Regions from separate parts of the Homo sapiens genome. Here region 2 is linked to region 1. Evidence: promoter capture Hi-C in 16 types of primary human blood cells and fetal thymus (Javierre and others, 2016). All regions are on one chromosome and are shown on one strand. The core of a region is centred on a gene start or on the middle of the fragment in contact, and the rest is flanking DNA. Distances in the headings are between cores, read along the strand shown.

Evidence for each region. Contacts are between HindIII fragments. The CHiCAGO score rates a contact against its expected background, and 5 or more counts as called.
Region 2: a contact is called between a fragment that was not itself captured here and the fragment with the promoter of TMIGD1 in region 1, in 1 of 17 cell types (M2 macrophages). The highest score is 9.7, in M2 macrophages.

The regions. Positions count from the first base shown.
Region 1 is chr17:30,331,371-30,337,673 of GRCh38, reverse strand. It overlaps TMIGD1 (transmembrane and immunoglobulin domain containing 1), which reads left to right and starts at 3,617. Exons shown (of 7, transcript NM_206832.3): 1 at 3,617-3,674; 2 at 5,516-5,622. The coding sequence starts at 5,541. The HindIII fragment of the contact is 5,890 bases long and covers 3,392-6,303 here.
Region 2 is chr17:30,029,400-30,035,702 of GRCh38, reverse strand. It overlaps EFCAB5 (EF-hand calcium binding domain 5), which reads right to left. Exons shown (of 23, transcript NM_198529.4): 8 at 1,318-1,473. Among named protein-coding and RNA genes, the nearest start is that of NSRP1, 84 kb to the left of the region's middle. The HindIII fragment of the contact is 5,412 bases long and covers 924-6,303 here.

The sequences.
Region 1 (6,303 bases), core at 2,368-4,867:
CCATAAGGCAGCCCTGTGCACGCATCCCCTTCCAGGGCAGAGCACCCAATTTGCACCTTGAATTTGACTCCATGGTTCTCAAAAGGAGATTCACAAACCATTGTGTAGAGTCCCTTGGAAGGCTTGTTAAAGATGAAATTTCTAAGTCTTATCAGGACTGAGGAAGGAAAGGTACTGGAACCTCCCCCAGGTGATTCTAATACTTGCCTTAATCAGAAAGTCATGGACTCCCTTGTCTGTTACCCTTCTAGAAGTACCTGGGCCTTAGGAATGGGAAGCAGATTGTCTTTTTTTAATTTTTTATTTTTTTGAGACAGGGTCTTGCTCTTTCACCCAGGCTGGACTGCAGTGGTGCGATCACGCTCACTGCAGCCTTAACCTCCTGGGCTCAATCCATCTTCCCACCTCAGCCTCCCAAGTAGCTGGGACTACATGCCACTATGCCTGGCTAATTTTTGTAATTTTTTTTTTGTATTTTTTGTAGAGATGAAGTTTCGTCATGCTGCCCAGGCTGATCTCGAACTCCTGGGCTCAAGCAATCCACCCGCCTCAGCTTTCAAAGTGTTGAGATTAGAGGCATGAGCCACTGCACCCTGCCAGATTGGTCTTTATTCCCAGGAATGTTCAGACTCGAGGGTGCTTTTTCCTCTTTCCCTCTTGGTCTAAGCCACTGTGGAAGCTGTGGAGTATTGGACTCTGTAAATACTCCAAACAGCCAAACTACTTAGGCTTAATGGTTAACTACTGGGCTTAACTACTTACAGAAAAATGATTTCTCCCCTCTGTCAGTTCTAGGAAAGAGGACTGTTCCAGGGATTTATATGACCTTGCACGAGTCATATGACAAAATTCTTTGACTCTCCAGCAGGGGCGCCATTATACCATTTTTCTTATCTGAAGTCCCTGCTCAGCACCTGAGGCCACTCTGCATGGCTCCTGATCATCATTAACGTTCTGCTCTACGATGTAAGACCTTCAAAAGCGCAGAGCTTGTTTTATTCATCTATGTATCACCACTTAATGTTATGGAAGCATTAAGTGGTGGAAGCATTAAGCTGGAAGCATCATTCATCTTATAGACATCATAGCTTTGTAGAGTTATTATAACAATTTTCCACAGATGGCAGTAGAGTGACTAGAGAAGCCATATTTTCCCTAATTCATGACAAAGCCACCATATTGGCTTGGCTGCAACTGGCATCCTCAATACTTAGAATACTTAGCACATGGTAGATACTCAATAAATATCTGCTGAATACATTTCCCCAACATTCTGATGACAAAAATGTCATACAGAAAAGTTGAAACAATAGTACAATGAAGATCTATAGACCCCTATTTAGTTGAATAAATGTTAACATTTGCTATATTTGCTGTGTGTTTATGTGTTTACTTTTCTTGCTGAATCATTTGAAAGGTAGTTGCAATTATCATGACACTTGACCCATAAATATTTCAGCAGGCATCCCTTGAGAATTAGAACATTCTCTACATAACTGCAATACCATGATCACAACTAATAATAATTAATCATTATTTCCTAATATCACCTAATATCCAATTGTAGAAGTTGCTGGTGGTGCTCTACTCACACATCCTTGGCCTACCCAGAAGTTACCTGCAAAGAGTTCCCATATAGCCAGTGACTTCCTGAGCATCTTTTCCTGGACATGTTGGCCAGCTTGAGAGAGTACACTTTGCCCTCACAGGGCAGGCTGAAAGTGCCAGAGAGTCAACACCTTGAGAGTGTCCCTCAGCCGGAGATGGAGAGAAGTTGCTTCCTTCCCTATCAGTAGTTGATTCTGAGGTATGCTGCACAGAATACAACTTGTCCAAAGCTCCAGGGATATAGTTGCTCACGGTAGTAATCTTTAACACATTCTTTACTAGTTTCCTCCCTTCCCTATCTTACTTCCTTACTATGCTTCCTGAGATCACTTTTTTTTTTTTTTTTTTTTGAGGAAGGGTCTCACTCTCTCGCCCAGATTGGAATGCAGTGGTCCAATCTTGGCTCAACACAACCTCCACCTCCCAGCCTCAAGGGATTCTTCCACCTCAGCCTCCCAAGTAGCTGGGATTACAGGCGCCCGCCACCATGCCTGGCTAATTTTTCTATTTTTAGTAGAGACGGGGTTTCATCACATTGGCCAGGCTGGTCTCGAACTCCTGACCTCAAATGATCCACCCTCCTCGGCCTCCCAAAGTGCTGGGATTAAGGGAGTGAGCCACTCACCGTGCCCGGCCGAGATCACCTTTAAATAAACTATTGGCACTCAAAGCTCTGTCTCAGGGTCTATTTTGGAGGCACCAAGAACCAAAACATCACTCCATTGCTAAATTCATTTTAAAATGACAATCTTGGATCCCTGGAGAGGCAAACTCAAAACCTGTTTGGGTGGTGCTTGCAACCCAGCCAACAGGAGCTGCTCTTAGCTCTGATTTTTGCTTGAACAATGCTATAGTGAGGTTGTGTTGATTTAGGATGCCCTGCTCAGCCTATATTAATAATAATAGTAATAAGAGCTACTGTTTACCAAGAGCTTACTGTGCGGCAGATTCACATGCTTCATTTCATTTAATCCTCACAGTGACTCCGTAGGGAGGGTACTATTACTATTTCCATTGTATTGATGAAGATCCTGAGGCTCATGGAGGTTAAATAACTTTTCAAAGTTACATAGCTAGTAAGAGGCAGATTGCTGGTGTGCTTCAGCAGTGTGTTAAAATGTGTAGATAACTATAAATATTCTTCTGTTATATTTTTGTGTAAATGGGAACAATAGTACTTGGCAGATAAAATTTGCATCGTTAACAATACCATAAACATAGTGTAATGCAAGGATCTCCCAATCAGGTGAGAGCCTCAAGAGGATAAAACTGTTCCCTAGGCCAAGGTGGGCAGATTGCTTAAGGCCGGGAGTTAGAGACCAGCCTAGGAAACATGGCGAAATTTCATCTCTACCAAAAATATATATATTAACAAAGTTTAGCTGGGCATGGTGACTCACGCCAGTAGTCCTAGCTCCTTGGGAGGCTGGGAGCAGAGGTTCAGTCAGCCACAATTGTGCCATTGCATTCCAATCTGGGTGACAGAGTGAAACCCTGCCTCAAAAAACAAAACAAACAACAACAACAAAAAAACGGCTCCCTGCCATGCCTGGCTTGGTACAGCTTATGCACTGGGCTTGGGTTACTAGTGGTAACTAAGACTTTTCCAGCATTATTTAAGTTGTGTAGAATCTTCCAATGTTTTGACCTCTGTTAAAGTCAAACTTCTCTTTGGACTCGTCCCTTCACAATCCCCAGGCTAGATGATCAAAACGCAGCCATCTTACTTAAATATGACAATATTCAGTGAGATGCGCTACAGATTTTTGCACAAGTTCAAGCTTTCTTGGAACAACACATCCCTGTTAGTAATATCCGGCCCCACCTAGTAACCGAGGTAGACATAGAAACTTAGATCTTAAGAAGATGTCTTTCCCAATTACTATCTTCTCTAAGACTCCATAAAGAAAAACAGACTTTGAACCCAAGTTATCTTATTTATTTGACCCTGCTGTCATAAAGCGTTCAAATTCAAGTATTATAAAGGATTGTAACAGGGAAAGCATTTAGGGTTTTCAGGCAGAGGAACAGTTGGCCAAGGAAGTCAGCTTCTCAGAGCTCAAGAGGTAAGTGGTAAGACTGTCTTATATAGAAAGTAGAGAGTCATACAGATTAAAAACAAGCCAAGTGAGGGGAATACATTTTGAAAAGTTGCTGTCTCGGTGGAGTGGAGGGAAAGAGAAGACATAGATTTGTCCCCTTAATAGGGCTGGGTGAGGTCTGGCAAGAAGCCTGCACTCTCAGTTTTTATTGAGTACTTGTAGTGCAGAGCGCTTGAGAAAACTCTACTATTGACCACATTCTGCAGTAATCACTGTTACAACACTGTGATAGAAATCTTTTTGGCAAATATTTAAAATTACAAAAGAATCAATATTAGTAGTAATTGCATCTTACGAAAAGATTGATGCAGGCTTGTCTGCCAGAAAGGGTGAGCCTGGCATGAATGAAACTTACTCCTGTCAGGGCACGCCTGGGACAGGGGAGGAGTAGAGTAGGTATAGGTATATTTCAGCTCTTGTAAATTAATACTGGTGTTAAGGGGAGAGAACTCCCAGTGGCCAGGGACTGGAAAAGATTAACAGCAGCTTTTTTTTATTTTTTTATTTTTTATTTTTATTTTTTGAGACCGAGCCTCACTCTGTCGCCCAGGCTGGAGTGCAGTGGCATAATCTTGGCTCACTGCAACCTCCACCTCCCAGGTTCAAGCAATTCTCCTGCCTCAGCCTCCCGAGTAGCTGGGATTACAGGCGCTCGCCACCATGCCTGGCTAATTTTTTTTTTTTTTTTTTGCATTTTTAGTAGAGATGGGGTTTCACTATGTTGGTCAGGCTAGTCTCAAACTCCTGACCTCAGGTAATCCACCTGCCTCAGCTCCTAAAGTGCTGGGATTACAGGCATGAGCCACTGCACCCAGCCTAACAGCAGCTTCTTAAAGGAAAAGAATATTAATCTAGGCAGTAGATTGGGTAGTAGGGTGGTTGAGAGTAGGGTGGTTAAGAGCATGGTCTTGGGAGTCTGGGTTCAAATCCCGACCTTGACATTTACTGTCTGTGGGATCTCAGGCAAATTACATAGTCTCTTTAAATCTATAGAAACGACCTCAGGAGGGTTGTTAGGAGGCTTAATTGTGACTGAAATGATGTATGTAAAGTGTTTAGCACAGTCCCTGTTGCGCAGAAAGTTTTCCGTATGTGGTTCGCTATATTTATAGTAGTACTCTTGAAAGGAAGTAATGAATATATGTTTTTTTCCCAGATGGAAATGGAGAATATCTTAGGGAGAGGGAGAGTTGAAGCAAAAGCAAGAAGGGAGAAAGGACACCTTTATTATTTATTATTTTTAGTCCATTGGGTCAAGGGGAAGAGAGAGAGAGAATAGTGGGAGAAAGACAAGATTAACATGGTTTAAACTAGAGGCCATGTTTCAATTGAGGCTTTTCTACGTACACACCATTTGAATCTATGGGATTTGGAGTAGTCTCAAAAACTCTCTATTATCAGAGAACATCTTTACAAAAATGACCCAAGAAAAACTTTCAGAACAAGAATTACTTTGTTCAGTAGGGACTGTCTGAGAATGAGACAAGTTTCATTCTGCTAAAATGAAATTCTATCAGTTTCTCTAGGGAAGACTGGTTTCATCTTCCCCAGGGCACCCTGACGCTGCTCTATCTGTCATAGCCTATTTCCTGTGGTTTTATGTTGCTTTTAAAAAAAATTTCTTACTACTAAATGTACTTTGAACTTAGTCAGACAGGGTTGTTTAATTAAAAGCTAGAAGTAGTACCGTTATAGCTGGGATGATTCATCTGGGACTTCACTTTAAATGCATAATAGACAGAAGGAAGGTTCACGAACTCATTGCAGACCAAAGTACAAAACCAACTGCACTATTTTTCCCTTAGTAGATCTGAGTTTAACTCATTAAAGATGGCATGGAAGAGCAGTGTCATAATGCAAATGGGAAGATTTCTTCTCTTAGTAATTTTATTTCTGCCACGTGAGATGACAAGTAAGTTAAAGTTCTTTTTGGCCTCTTTTTAGATAAAGAAAAATTTCCGATTAAGAAAAGTGATCAATGGGCATTGGATATATCCTTAAATTCCAAATTGGAATGACTACACAGTTAGCATGGCTCACAGTACAGGAGTCAACTAACAATAAAAAATCAAATGGAGGCCAGGCGGGTGGCTCACGCCTGTAATCCCAACACTTTGGGAGGCCGAGGCAGGTGAATCATGAGGTCAGGAGATCGAGACCATCCTGGCTAACACGGTGAAACCCCATCTCTACTAAAAATACAAAAAATTAGCCTGGTGTGCTGGCAGGCGCCTGTAGTTCCAGCTACTCGGGTGGCTGAGGCAGGAGAATGGCGTGAACCCAGGAGGTGGAGCTTGCAGTGAGTGAGCCGAGATTACGTCACTGTACTCCAGCCTGGGCGACAGGGCGAGACTCCGTCTCAAAAAAAAAAAAAAAAAAATCAAATGGAAAAATATTGTTTTTAGGGTTTTATTATTACAAGACAAGGTGAAGTATTCTATTCTCTCCAGAGCCACCACCAGAATCCTCCTACATTTTAATGCATTTTATTACTAATGTTACCCCAAATAATCATCTGTTTATCTGAACATACCATTTCACATGAAAATCTTTCCAGCATTTGCTCTCCTACCACTCTTTTCTGATTTTAAAA
Region 2 (6,303 bases), core at 2,380-4,879, 300 kb after region 1:
AGAATACTGTACAGACCTTGTTAGAATAACTCTTATAAGACTCCCCACATAATTTAATCACATTTTCACGGTTTACTGTTCTTTGTCCAATCCAGTACATAAGTAACTGGCTCTAACTGCTTCTTTGGGTCTTCATTTCCTTAAGAGGACTCCTGTGCCATATAAAACTTGTAACTAAATTTGTATGGTTTTCTCCTGTTATTCTATCTTCTGTCAGTTTAATGCTCAGACCCAGCAGGAATCCTACGAGGATGGAAGTGTAGTTTTTCTGCCCCTGCACTTTCAATATCAGCATATAACTACTGCTTGAATGATGGGAAGAAAAGCAAAGAATGAAAGCAAACCTCAATTAATTGCTCTAAATATTATCCCACTATGTTTGTTACAGCACACGAATTGGTGTTAAATTGGCCAACAGAGAATAGTTGTCCTTCAGGCATTTTACCAGGGAGTAAAACTTTGACACTTGTCACTCAATATTTATTACAAGCTCTGTTAAAAGAAGCAATATTCAATAAGGATTAACTGAAAGACACATAGACATTTCAGATTTTATAAAATATATTCCTGACTTCATTTAAATTAGCAGGAATCTAAGAACCTAGATTGCAATATATCGGTTCTTTTAAGAATTGCTTTTTCTGAATTGCAGTCCAGTGTGGCATCGTTTGCCTACATTTGAAGTAACTATAAGAAACTGCCCTAAAAAAGTCATTGTTTAATTTATTACAAGCCCATCATGAAAGATTTTGACTTCAGCACATAAGGGCCCCTTTATAAAGAGAAGCTCCTAACTATAATTTGAACCCCAAATTTCTGTGCTTCTTAGCACTTGTTTGTAATTATCTTATAAACATTGTTAATAGTGTGTTTGGTCATGTTTCCCTTTTCACATTCACTGCTAGGAAGCTCAGATCCAAGCTTGTAAACAACCCACAATGACTATTTAGGTCATTATGTTATGCATTTTGGGGCTTTGTTCCCAGCTTCATTTACTATCCCCTCTCTTATTTTTTTCTTCTTTCATCCTACTTTTAGTTTACATTTTGTTTTTGCATCTTATCTATTCTTGCAGGCTTACTTAAATTCTTTCTGGACATGGAGATACAAACAAATAAATATAAGGTTCATAAACAAATATATTTCAGTAAAGTTTGTATCTATTTTGTAGATATGGGGTTTCACCATGTTGTCCAGGCTGGTCTCAAACTCCTGGGCTCAAGTAATCCACCAGCCTCAGCCTCCTAAAGTGCTGGGATTACAGGCGTGAGCCACAGTGTCTGGCCAAGAAGCAATTATTTAAATGTCTTAACCCACCTTCCCGTGGTCACAATGTAGGAAGAGTTCAGCGAACATCTGCCTCCGCATGTCAGCTTTTATGACCTCCCGAAATTCATCTGCAGAGTGGCAAAGGTGCTTAAGAAGTTCCTCAAACATTTCACTCTTCAAGTCTTTAATATGTGAAGAGATGTACTACAGGGGAAAAAAAAGAGGATAAACGATTGACTTAAAACCATGCTCTACTTGGATTTTCCCCAGGATTCAACCAATGTGCATGAAATACATTGGCTGTAAAATGTTTCCATATGATTTGCTTATCACTTAGATGAAGCATTTTCATGCTAGCTGCTGTAAAAGCTGTGATGCAGAGAGAGGTAACTAATGCAGTCCCCAATACCACACATCAGTGGGACTAGATATTTTTGGAGCAATTTCCCTCTATATCACATCAACATTATATAGGGCAGACTTTCCTCACAGTATGAAATAGCAGTAGTTGCCTGTAAAATGCTACCTGCAAATTAAAAGTCCTAAAAATTGAATGCAGTTTTTCTATGGTATATGGTATATAAAAGCATGTGTATTGCAAGACTGGCTGCATTTAATTACTGGAGTGTAAGCGACAAGGATCATGGGTGGCTTTTTGTTTTTTGATATTGCAATAAGATATCCTTTGTCTATGATCTTCTTTTAAAGTATAGGGACTGAAAACGTCTATACTCTTCGGCCATTTCTCTTGATCCCTGTTGAGTAGATTCCCAGAAGTGGAATTTCTAGCTTAGAGGATTAATGCACCTGAATATTTTGTAGGTTTGACATGGGGCTTGCCCACTTTTGCACTCCTATGACTAATGCATGAGTGATTATTTCTTCTCAGCCTCACCATCAGTGTATATTGGCATCTGGGTTTTTGCCAATTTGATAGGTCAGGAACGAATTACATTCTTGGTCTACACTTTAAGAGATAGAAGGTATCCTGTGATAGAGAGAAGTGATCAAGCACTGCAAGAGTTTCTGAGTGCACTCCTTTTAAAGTGTGAGCTCGGCCGGGCACGGTGGCTCACGCCTGTAATCCCAGCACTTTGGGAGGCCGAGGCGGGCGGATCACAAGGTCAGGAGATCGAGACCATCCTGGCTAACACGGTGAAACCCCATCTCTACTAAAAATACAAAAAATTAGCCGGGCGTGGTGGCGGGCGCCTGCAGTCCCAGCTACTCGGGAAGCTGAGGCAGGAGAATGGCGTGAACCCGAGAGGCGGAGCTTGCAGTGAGCCGAGATGGCGCCACTGCACTCCAGCCTGGGCGAGAGTGCGAGACTCCGTCTCAAAAAAAAAAAAAAGTGTGAGCTCAGCTCACAGCCGATGATTTCCTCCCCTGCCTCACGCACAGAGGTAGCCAAAGTTACACTGCATGATCCCACTTCCATAGCCATAAATGATTGAACCAGGGGGAACACTTAAGGCCATTCAGATTCTCTCCACTAGGAATTGGGGATTAGAACTGAGTAACAGCCAGTTAATCTGAGTGGGCCTGAATTTGTGAATGTGTAGTCGAGGCAAAATTTTACCTCTACTCTCTTAGGGTCTTTGGCTGGGCCTGAGAATTAAATTGACATAAGATAGGTTAGCAGGAGAAAGGAATAAAGATTTAATATAAATTTTATGTGACATAGGAGCTGTCATAAAGAAATGAAGATCCAAAGAAATGGCAAAAACTACATGCTTTTATTAATATATTGAGTTGAACAAAGAGAGGCAATTGTGGAAAAGTAACTAAATTATGTTGGGAAACTAAAAGGAAGATAATAATTATTTTAACAAGGTCTGTTTGTACAGAATTCTCTCAGCTAAGACTCCCAGTTGAATAATGTTTCCTTTCTCCTGATACAGGGAGGACATCTTTTACATGGGAGATTTTAACTTCCTATTCTCCAGAAGAAAAAGAGATTAGAATGCCCTTCTTGTATCTATTTTTCAAGTGCCTTTAGCTGAAAGTAATCCTTATGCCAAAGTGGAATGTTTCGGGGTAGCATATTTTGCCACCCTTCAAATGTAAATTTAAGAGTTTTGGGGTGGCCAGATTCCTCCATGTGAACTGAGACTGCCGGGAAAGTCTGTTATGGAGAGAAACAGATGAAATGCAAAGCAGAGAGAAACAGTCTTAACACTTTCCAAGTCCTTGTTCTAGTCTCTTCCTGAAGCCCTTGGATTGTGCACATTTCATATTCAGTTGTACATATTCAGCTCAGGTTGGTTTCTGGTTCTTGTAATTAGCATGTATTTAACATGGTTTGTAAAAATCATGTTCCACTTTAGTAATTTGTTTAAAATGGAACATGTTTTTGGCATATTTCATTGACATATAATTTTTATTTTTATTTTTTTAGAGACAGGGTCTCACTCTGTTGCCCAAGCTGGAGTGCAATGGTGCAGTGGCACAATCATGGCTCACTGCAGCCTTGGTCACAAGACTCAAGTGATCCTCCTACCTCAGCCTCCTGAGTTGCTGGGACTACAGGTACGAGCCACCACACCTGGCTAATTAAAAAAAAAAATGTGTGTGTGTAGAGATAGGGTCTCACTATGTTGCCCAAACTGGTCTCAAACTCCTGGGCTCAGGTCATCTTCCTGCTTCAGCCTCTCAAAGTACTGAAATTACAGGCATGAGCCACTGTACCCAGCATCATTATCATTATTCTTGATGGATCAATGCACACAGTTAAGTTCTTAGCTGTTACCATGGGAACAAGCAGAGTAGTGGAAGTGGTTAAGAACTCACTCTGAAGCCTGTCTGGGCTCAACTCCCTGTTCTCATATCCGTTCATTTGTGAAATGGGTATCACAGTAGTAGTTACCTCACTGAGTTATGGTATGTACGATCTGGGTGTTTCACGTAGTAAGTTCTCTTCAGCCATTGTGTTTGTCTACTCTTGAGGTAGGTAACAAATTGGCCAAGAACATCTTCTTCATTAAATAAACAGTCCTCTTAGCTGATAAACAACTTTAGAAGGAGAAAACCCAACAAGATCAGCGGTTCTCAAAGTGTGATCCCTAGACCAACAGCATCAGCATCATCTGAGAACTTGTCAGAACTGCAAATTTTTAGGCCCCACCCCATATTTACTGAATCAGAAATTCTGGGAGTAGGGCCCAATAATCTATAGTTTAACAAGCCTCCCTGGTGATTCTGATGCTTGTTAAAGTTTGAGAACCACTGAACTACATGATCTGGGGTATCTGGTCCTGATTAGTCCCGTATCCTAAGATCCTGTTGTTTGATCCTTAATGACTTTTTACTTGACTAGTAGGTATTTTTCTATATTACTCATAAGTCAGAATTATTGAATAATTGACCTTTTCTGGCAACAATGTAGCTCAATCCTCTAATGCTGAAAAAAAAATTGGTATTTGGAAGAACACCAATTTTAAATTAAGTGTTTGGGAATTGACTTCAAAGCCATATGAGCTTTCTGGCTGTGGGAATGCTATTGAATCAATAATTAGTTTTAAAAGGTTTAGGCAGGAGGATCACTTGAGGCCAAGAGCTTGAGGCCAGCCTGAGCAACATAGGAAGACCTCATCTCTACAAAAGATTTAAAAATTTAGCCAAGAGTGGTGGTGCACGCTTGTAGTCCCACTCAGGAGGCTGAGGTGGGAGGATCACTTGAACCCAGTAGTTCAAGGTTTCAGTGAGCTATGATCACATCACTCCAGCCCAGGCAACAGAGCGGGACCCTGTTTCAAAAAAAAAAAAAAGAATTAGTTAAAAAACCTTTCTCTGGGCTGGGCGCAGTGGCTTACGCCTGTAATCCCAGCACTTGGGAGGCCGAGGTGGGCGGATCACCTGAAGTCAGGAGTTCAAGACCATCCTGGCCAACATGGTGAAACCTCATCTCTACTAAAAATAAAAAATTAGCCAGGCATAATGGTGGGTGCCTGTAATCCCAGCTACTTAGGAGGCTGAGGCAGGAGAATTGCTTGAACCCGGGAGGCAGAGGTTGCAATGAGCCGAGATTGCACCATCTCACTCCAGCCTGGGCAACAGAGCGAGCGAGACTCCGTCTCAAAACAAACAAACAAACAAACAAACCTTTTTCTGAGAGACACTTCTGGATTTTTCATCCCTGAAAGTTCTGATGGAAAAAAAAAATATTCTGGAGCTATAGTCTGTCGGTTTTCTGAGTTAGCATATTCTGATTGTTCTGTAAGTTTAGGCTAGCTGGCATAAAGACTAACAGTTGGCGATATCAACTACAAATCAAATTCCAGATAATTACAGAAGTTTGCCAATGTCTCTTGTAAAAACAGAAAAAGGTGAAAATCGATGGGAGCCTTTGTGTTTTCATACCTTTCCAAGGAAAGATTGCTTAATTTAAGAATATAATTACCAATACCTTTCAGTTAATATCTCTGTGAGATGTTAAACATTTGAACTGTACTTAGTCAAGTTATCTCTATGTGCTAAGTCCCAATGTAATGAATTCTGGGATTTTCCTTTCTGACTTAATGCTGAGAATGTGGTAAATATCACATTTAATAGCTATTATAAGATTCTATAGCTCTGGGCCAGTGGGATTCATACTTATTTAATTGTAGACATACTGAAGAGTTGATGAAGTGGGTGATATAAGAGCAATAGAAAGAAAACTATGTTTGGAAACTATCTATCTTAGGTATTAACTTCCAAACGGTATTTGTAAGCCCTGGTAGTATACGAGGAGTGCAAACAAGGAGTACAGAATATTGAAGTACTCAGGTTATATTTGTTATCTATCACTGAAGAAATGGTGTGTTCCTATAGCCTGTGGGCAGAAAATTAGCTTTCCAGTTTTAGGGAGGAAACTTTAAAAAAAAAAAAAAAGATTAGTGCTAATTATATACAGACAGCCCCTGACTTATGATGGTTCAATTTAACAATTTTTCCACTTTATGATGACACAAAAGTGATATGCATTCAGTACTTTGAAGTACCTATACAACAATTCTGTTTTTCACTTTCAGTATAATATTTAATAAATTACAT